3 separate regions of the Homo sapiens genome follow, and all the other regions are linked to region 1. The links are contacts of gene promoters, found by promoter capture Hi-C in human tissues and cell types (Jung and others, 2019). All regions are on one chromosome and are shown on one strand. Each heading gives the region's core, a stretch centred on a gene start or on the middle of the fragment in contact. The rest is flanking DNA. Distances are from core to core; before and after follow the strand shown. Region 1 holds the start of SKA2 (spindle and kinetochore associated complex subunit 2). Region 2 overlaps CLTC (clathrin heavy chain). Region 3 holds the start of LOC107985048 (a long non-coding RNA gene).

Region 1 (3,005 bases), core at 326-2,825:
GCTACTCAGGAGGCTGAGGTTGTAGTGGGCCGAGATTGTGCCACTGTACTCCAGCCTAGGCGACAGAGCGAGACTCCGTCACAAAAAAAGAAAAAAAAAAAAAAGAAAGAAAGAGAAGAAAAGTTCTTTGTTCTGGGGTACTTTCAAAGCTGTAGCAGCAACGGAAATGACTGTTGCATTTCATTGCCATCTTCCTAAAACACATTTTTATGGAAGTCTCTTGCGCTCCTCCACAAATAGCCTTCAATTACTTAATTTCCATTAGCAGTCCAATTGATTCTTCTTGAACACCCATAGCACTATTTCTGGGTACTTGCTTTTTTTAAATTTTATGTTTTATGCTTTTTTTTTTTTAAGCATTGCTGTTTTTGTTCTGTCTTGTTTTTCCAAAGAGACTGCAGCTCCCTAAAGTCTCATCCCGCACAGTATTAGGCACTCAGTAAACAGGACACGCATTTAAAATTGACACTCTAACAGCATGCCAGACAATATCGAGTAACATAGTAATATTCCCAGTCAAGAAATGTACCAACTTAAACTTTAATGTGCATAGAAATCACTCAGGGAAATCTTGTTAAAATGTATATTCTGATTTAGTAAATTTGGGTGGAGTCCGATAATTTGCATTTGTAACAAGCAAACAAGAGATGCGGATGCCGCTGATCTGTGGACTTGCATTGAGCAGCAAATATGTAAAGAAATGTTCAAAAGGAAGGCAGATGCTTTGCTCCAAAACGTATCTTGCGAAGTGTTAATTAAATAGAAGTATGGTTAAGATGAAGCCAGGCCGAGCACTTCTTCCCCAGCCCCAAACCTCCCCTTCCTCCTTTCCATTTCCCCTTCGTGTCCAGCCAAAGTCCCCACCTCCCTAAACCATAAAAACACAAGCAGCAACAGGCCCAGCTACTCAAGACGCGAGCTCAGATAACAAAGAAATAATCGTTCCTGCACTTACTAGTCTAAGAGCCGGGGGAGTCGATGGAGTCCGGGCTGTGGCCTCTCCCACGCCATAAAGAAAAATTCAAAATTAAATCCTTGTCAGGGAGAGGCCAATCGTAGACACGGTCTCTGCACGATTCGCTCTTCGGATGGTGTAGGAGCACAGCCCGGCTTGTGATTGGCTGAGATAGCACAGAGCTCCAGCCAATCAGAGCTGAGGCGCTTCTGGTATGAATAAGGAGAAGGCGGGAGAGAAGGGGAAGGAAAGCCGGAGGGGAAAGAAGGTGTGTTACGTCCCCTCTGCTGTCGGTGGAAGCTCTGGTGTGATTGGTTGGCTCTTCTTCCAATTGCACCAATCTCAAGCTCTTCTCTGCAGAGCCCTAACTACAAAATTGAAAGTAGAGAGGAGGGGGCAGCCAATGGAAAAAAAAATTTGCACAGCAGCCAATCCTCCTGCGGCGTTTTGTGCCTTTGCCCAACAGGAAAATGTGTCTCATGCAGAGGGGCGTTACCCAGTCTCCAATGGGCGGGAGCCGGTGGAACGGAGGAGCCAATGAGTGCGAGATGTTGAGTGACAGCTGTCCAATGGAGGCCCTCCGTGCTAGTACGGCTTGCGGCTTAAGCGCCGCCGCGGTCTGCGGAATGTCAACTATTCAACATGGAGGCGGAGGTCGATAAGCTGGAACTGATGGTGAGTGCAAAGTGAAGGAGATCTACTGGGTAGTTTATTTTTCCCCCATGGCCTCGGAGGTGGGGCACAATTTGGAGTCGCCGGAAACTCCGGGCGGCGGAGGCTGGACCAGAGTCGAGTTCCCTCCTCCTGCACCAAAGGGAGCCGCCACCGTCTGGTGTCTAAACCGCCTCGGGTAAGGGGTTACATCCGGGAAACTCGTCAGGGAAATGGCGGGAGATGCTGAGGGTGCGGGGCCTTTGGAATTCCTTGTTCCTTGCCCTCACCTTTACACCCCTTACGAAACTGCGCCGGGTGCAGACCGCATTCTGTGTTTGTACCAAAAAAGATGTGAATGGAACGGTCCCTAAGCGTCCCAAGAAGGGAGAGGTGGTTCACACTCCAAGAAAGGGGAACGGAGGGTGGGGTGGGGAATAAACTGACGGGGGCGAGGAGAAATCCCTGTAGGGCCAACCCGCTCACGTTCTAAAAGGCGGGCCGAGAAAGTCTGAGAAAGGATGCTAGACTTGTATGCACAACTTCCTAACGGCCAAGGAACCCGTTTCTGTTTGATCCGGAGGTGGCAAACCGTGGGTGAGGGAAGAGGTGTGAGCGAAGGGGATCGTAACCACGAGCTCCGCTCCCGGAGCGCGGGCGGGATTGAGACAGGAAAGGCATCCTGCTCTGGAGTTGTGCACTTTCATTCATCTGTGAAAGTAGAAAACGGGGGCGAAGAATTGGAAAGCACTCCCGTTGTTGCTGGCGTGTTTGGCCTGCTCGGGGGGCGCCCAGCTGGGGGGCTGTCCTAGTTTTCTTTAAGGATCCGTCCCTCACTTGTTCTCTTTATTCCCTCCCTCCCATCCTTAGATTACCAGCTTGATCGCCCGCGCTTTTTTCCTCTTAGTGTCCTTGTTCTGTCTTCAGCCCTTTTCGTTCAGCATTATCTTTTTTTTCTTTTCTTTTCTTTTTTTTTTTTTTTCCCAGGTTGGGCTGCTTTCCTTAAAAACCTGGACTTTGGAGGAAGCGCCTGCCACTGAGCTCCTGTCTTTTTTTGTTTGTTTGCTTGTCTGTTAAATACGATTGGCCGGGCGCGGTGGCTCACGCCTGTAATCCCGGCACTTTGGGAGGCCGAGGCGGGCGGATCAAGAGGTCAAGACATTGAGACTACCCTGGCCAACATGGTGAAACTCCGTCTATACTAAAAATAAAAAAATTAGCCGGGTGTGATGGCACGCGCCTGTAGTCCCAGCTACTCGGGAGGCTGAGGCAGGAGGATCGCTTCAACCTGGGAGACGGAGGTTGCAGTGAGCCGAGATCGCGTCACTGTACTCCGGCCTTGCGACAGAGACAACGTCTCAAAAAAAAAAAAGATTAAGTTTTAAAAAAGTAAAAGACT
Region 2 (2,822 bases), core at 124-2,623, 520 kb before region 1:
CAGTGATGGCCACTAAGAACATTATTTTCAAGGTTAGAATTAAATGGCTCCTGAGACTAGGGGATATTAGTTACTCGATTATAAATAATACGAAGACTAGTCTATGAAGTGTCCCAAGAACACCAAGGTAAATCTTAATTTTAATATAGCCATCCTAAATTAAAAAATAAAAATGTCTGTAAAGCTGCAGATTTTCCACATTAAGGAAGGTTTTCTAAAATAAGTATTGTTTAACACCATGGAAACTCTGCACTAATAGCTGTTACGATCATTTCTAGAATCTGTCTGCATCTATCTATGTAAAAATTTTAGTATGTCATGTTTTTCCTACTAAATGAACATCAAAAAAGTATGGATCAACACACTAGTCATCTTACCTATACACATATAAAATATTTTTGTTATCTTTATCACTTACAGATAATCTAGGATTACTTATTCTGTTTTCATGCATAGGTGTTAAAATTTCTGTGGCAAATAATTCCACTTTTGTGGAATACTAACTGTATTCCAAAAGAAAATTTCAGATTTAAAAAGTAGACAAAATCTAGGTTATTTTCTTGATTGCTAAAATTTGCACATGATTTTATACATGGTAGAAATGTTAACATTTTAATAATATTAAATTACTTACTAAATGTTTAATTAACCTCCAGTTATAATGGTTAAAGATTTTAAGATCAAACTTGAAATTATATTAGCATAGTCAGAGGTTTTCTTCAACATAAATTTGTTCATTTAACAAATATTTATGAGTACCCAAGTATCAGACTCTGTTCTTAGGTACTGGAGATACAGCAGGGAACAAAGGAAGCAGAGTCCATTCTCTCAAGGAACTTACATTCTAGTGGGAGGAGACGTTTCATAGTGGTGTTATAAAGAAAAACAAGCAAAATGGGGTAGGAATGGGTTCTATTTTACACAAGGCAACCTGAGACATCCTCTCTTCTGACATTCAATCAGAAACCCAAAGAAGGTAAAGGAGAAAGAAGGTCATGAGAGAATAGTAGTACAGGGCACAAGCAAAGGCCCTTCGGCAGGACAAGGTTAGGGGAGTTCCAGGAATAGCTAGCAGGCCAGTGTGGTTGAAGCTAAACCAGGAAAGAAAGAAAAAAAGAAAGGTAGAAAATAAGATCAAAGGTAGCAAGGAGCAGATCATGGGTCTGATGAACAGTTATATGCTTTCTACAGAGAGCTTACAGTTCTACAAACTTAGGGCATGAGTCAAATGATGCTAATGACACAATTTTATCCTGCTCACAGGGTACCTTAAAGGAGAAGTTATGTTCTACCAATCTCTTTATTCCTGGTGGCTAACACACAATTGGCACTTGAATATTCAAGATCAGAGTCAGGGTATTTTTCTTATGACACAGGGTTTACTTACAACACCAGTAAATTATCATGTAGCTAGTACCTCTAAAATTAAGTTTAATAACAGTGATAAGAGGCATCATAACCCTGTACTGGAGGTTAACAAGGAATCTAATAAGTTCACTCTCAACACTGGCATCAGAGGATGAATGTGATAGTTGCATCTTAGTATTGAGCTCCCATGTCAAATTATGTAGACGTAAGACCCTAAATTCACCTCTAATCCTGGCTGGAAGTAAATTCCTTCAAAGAGTCAAGTACAAATTGATATCAAAGAGAAATAAATACTTGCCTGACAGAAATCCCATTTAGGCTGACTCCACCTTTTTCCAAGGCTTATCACTTATCAGTAATAGTTACTGCCTAAACATCTATAGTATACAAGGTACTTGATAAATAAACATAGCTTATGGTTGAAGAAACTGAGGCTGAGGCATATTCATTAACTTGCCTGAGGTAACAGCTAGACATATACTGAATGAACAAACAATGGCTAAGTAGAATTTGAAACAGGTCTGACTGACTCAAAAGCTCATAATCCACATCCACACCCCTACTATATCAGGCTTGTACCCAGTTCACAAGTGTGGAGGGGAAATCTTCATCTGATTAGATCCCATGGGCTATGCAAACCTAAGGCAGTACCATCCTAGTACCCAGAGGATTGTTTTTCATTTCTTTACTAGAGGATTTTTTTTAAAGCTCAAAAATGTGATAATTAAATAATAGCTAATTTCATTTTGCTTTCCATATATATATAACTCAAATATTAAAATCCAAAGCTAAAGAAGTTACAATTTAAGCATAGAAGCTGAGGGCTCAATAAAAACAAAAAGAAATCATTTAAGAATCTGGTAGTATTAACACAGGAACAGAAAACCAAATACTGCATGTTCTCACTAGCAAGTGGGAGATAAATGATGAGAACACATGGACACAGAGAGGAACAACAGACACTGGGGCCTACTGAAGGGTGGAGGATGGGAGGAGGGAGAGGATCAGAAAAAATAACTAATGGGTTGTAGGCTTAATACCTGGATGACGAAACAATCTGTACAACAAACCCCCATGACACAGTTTACCTATATAACAAACCTGCCCACGCACCCCTGAACTTAAAAGCTTAAAAAGAAAAACAAAAAAAAAAACCCAACACCCCCTGCCCCCAAAAGAATCTAGTAGTAGTTTTTTTTGTTGTTGTTTTTTTTAAAGGAAATAGTAATGATACTCAAAGAAGGAAGTGAATCAGTAGTATGGGTACACTAGTCAAGCACAGAGTATCAAATCTTTCTCATTTGGAGGGGTTTTTTGACACCAGAAAGTTTTGGTCCAAACATAGCACAGCTAGGTTACCCAGAATATTCATGATGGCCAAGACATTTTAAAGCTATACTTTTTTGAAAAGTGTATCTTTTAATCTAAAATGTAGAGCAGTTTCAACATTTTGA
Region 3 (2,700 bases), core at 193-2,692, 580 kb after region 1:
TCAGACTTAGGCTGAGGGAGGCCCCATTTTTGTGCTTCCTTGATTGCTAAGGCAGGAAAAATGGAACACGGTGAGTTGTGTACTGGCTGTTAAAGTTTCTGCCCAGAAGTGACTCATCACTTTCACTCATATTTTATTGGTTAAAACAAGTTCTGTGGTCATTTATGTAAATCAAGAGGGCCAAAAAGTCCTGTTGTATTATTTAGAAGGAGAAACAAACATTTTTGGTAACAGAATTAATAAAGTCACAACTCAACCCCAAATCCATGATCTTTCATTTATATCACTGGTCTCAGAGGATTTTTGCAAGGATTAAAAATGTGAAGGACAGGCACAGTGGCTCACACCTGTAATCTTAGCACTTTGGGAGGCCGAGGCAGGCAGATCACCTGAGGTCAGGAGTTTGAGATCAGCCTGACCAACATGGAGAAACCCCGTCTCTACTAAAAATACAGAAAATTAGCCGGGCGTGGTGGCGCATGCCTGTAATGCCAGCTACTTGGGAGGCTGAGGCAGGAGAATCACTTGAACCCAGGAGGCGAAGGTTGCAGTGAGCTGAGATCGCGCCATTGCACTCCAGCCTGGGCAACAAGAGTGAGACTCCATCTCAAAAAAAAAAAAAAAAAAGTGAAAACATGGAAGGATTTAGCATGGGATCTGCCTTATAGTTAATGTTCAGTGAGTACTGACATTGAATCTTAAATATTGGTTAAAGTAGAAACAGGTCAAGTTTGTCTTCACTATTCTGGCCATTTTTTGGTACAAGCCTCTCTGGCCTCTCCTGGTACACTATGCCAGGAAGCTTCTTACAGGTGCTGAGGCCTCATGGCTGTGCCCCTTTGCTCCAATATCTTACCTCCCAGCAAAGTTCCTGTGCTCTGTTGATTTTCTCATGAATTTGCTCACAGTCGTATAGAGTCTTTAACTGATTTCAGAGCTGACCCTTAGAGAGTATTTATTCAACTCTGGAGAGAAAAATGAGGCCCAGACATGTCAGAGAACTCGCAGCTAGTAGTACAGCCAGAACCAGAACTCACACTTTTTTTTTTTTTTTTTTTTTTTTTTGGAGATGGAGTCTCATTCTTGCTGCCCAGGCTGGAGTGCAATGGCGCGATCTCAGCTCACTGCAACCTCCGCCTCCTGGGTTCAAGCAATTCCTGTCTCAGCCTCCCGAGTAGCTGGAACTACAGGCACGTGCTACCAAGCCCAGCTAATTTTTGTATTTTTAGTAGAGACGGGGTTTCACCATGTTGGCCAGGATGGTCTCGATCTGTTGACCTCGTGACCCACCCGCTTTGGCCTCCCAAAGTGCTGGGATTACAGACGTGAGCCAACGTGCCTGGCACAGAACTCACACTTTCTACTCCTGAGCTTAGTGCCCTTTCCTCTGCGTCTCACACTGGGCTGATCAACTGGTTCCTTGTAGCAAGTAGTTAGTGTACTTTGTTCACAGAGGGGATTTATGTAATTTTCTTACTTTCTTTCTCACAGTACTGAAGATGAACAAGAAGAGACATCAAAGGAGTCACCAAAGGAACTGAAAGAGAAAGACATGTATGATCACCAAAGAGAATGCCTAGGGATGCTTGTGTAAAGTCTTGGTTTTAAGGGAATAGTATATTCTTGTTTGTAAGGATCTTTCCATTTTTACGTGTAGACTTAATGTGAGTATGCTGCTTCTTTCACCAAAAAGTTGTTATCAAATTGGTGATATGATTTATAACTAATAGCAGCTTACACTCAAGGAAATGTAGTGATGATAATAATAATCATAATAATAATAAGTTTACGCTTAAGGTAGATTAAATCTGTTTTCCACGTAAATATCCTGGAAATATGGAATATTTCATCTATGGAAATAGTTTATTTTTAGCTGCTGATATGTTTAAAGTTACAGTATCTAGCAAAGAAAGTCTCTATGGTGCCAGGTGTGGTGGCTCATGCCTGTAATCCCAGCACTTTGGGAGGCTGAGGTGGGCGGATCACCTGAGATCAGGAGTTCGTGACCAGCCTGGCCAACATGGTAAAATCCCATCTCTACTAAAAATACTAAAATTAGCCAGGCATGGTGGCACACGCTTGTAGTCCCAGCTACCCAGGAGGCTGAGGCAGGAGAATCACTTGAACCCGGGAGGCGGAGGTTGCAGTGAGCCGAGATCATGCCATTGCACTCCATCCTGGGTGACAAGAGCAAAACTCTGTCCCTGCCGCCAAAAAAAAGTCTCTTTGGTAATAAAGTTACAATCTCTTTTAAATATGTTCTCTAATATTCTCTTTAAGATACATAAGATGTTCTAAGATATTCTCTAATTCTGGCCTATTGCCACATACAAATTTTGTTAAGATTATACTTAAAAAGTACCTCTCAGGAATATATTGTTTGATTTTTCTAGTCATCTTCTCATCATTACTGTGTGCTCTTAATTCTTTAGATCATTGACGGATATTCAAGACCTGTCTAGTATCTCCTATGAACCAGACAGCTCTTTTAAGGAAGCTTCATGCAAAACACCCAAAATAAACCATGCACCTACCAGTGTCAGCACTCCACTCAGCCCAGGTAATCACAGGGAAGAGAAGTGTTTGGGGAGAAGGACTTACAGCCCCAGCCCATTGTCTCTGGGAAGCCAAGCCGTGGTATCAGAGCTGGTGGCTGTGTTGTCATAGTGCAAAGGTTTTTCTTTAGGGCCAAAACTGGGT

The links. Contacts are between HindIII fragments. The study calls those that stand out against the background at their distance.
Region 2: a fragment that was not itself captured here is called in contact with the fragment with the promoter of SKA2 in region 1 in 1 of the 25 tissues and cell types used here (adrenal gland).
Region 3: a fragment that was not itself captured here is called in contact with the fragment with the promoter of SKA2 in region 1 in 1 of the 25 tissues and cell types used here (spleen).

What each region holds. Positions count from the first base shown.
Region 1 is chr17:59,153,756-59,156,760 of GRCh38, reverse strand. SKA2 (spindle and kinetochore associated complex subunit 2) reads left to right here and starts at 1,575. Exons shown (of 4, transcript NM_182620.4): 1 at 1,575-1,630. The coding sequence starts at 1,598. PRR11 (proline rich 11) reads right to left here and starts at 1,015. Exons shown (of 10, transcript NM_018304.4): 1 at 956-1,015. RefSeq lists enhancers at 838-887, 1,548-1,787. The HindIII fragment of the contact is 17,595 bases long and covers 1-3,005 here.
Region 2 is chr17:59,669,978-59,672,799 of GRCh38, reverse strand. All of the region lies in intron 14 of CLTC (clathrin heavy chain), which reads right to left. Among named protein-coding and RNA genes, the nearest start is that of PTRH2, 36 kb to the left of the region's middle. The HindIII fragment of the contact is 7,956 bases long and covers 1-2,822 here.
Region 3 is chr17:58,573,041-58,575,740 of GRCh38, reverse strand. TEX14 (testis expressed 14, intercellular bridge forming factor) reads left to right here. Exons shown (of 32, transcript NM_031272.5): 22 at 1,492-1,554; 23 at 2,433-2,560. It overlaps LOC107985048 (a long non-coding RNA gene), which reads right to left and starts at 1,968. Exons shown (of 3, transcript XR_001752952.2): 1 at 1,478-1,968; 2 at 857-965. The HindIII fragment of the contact is 5,135 bases long and covers 1-2,700 here.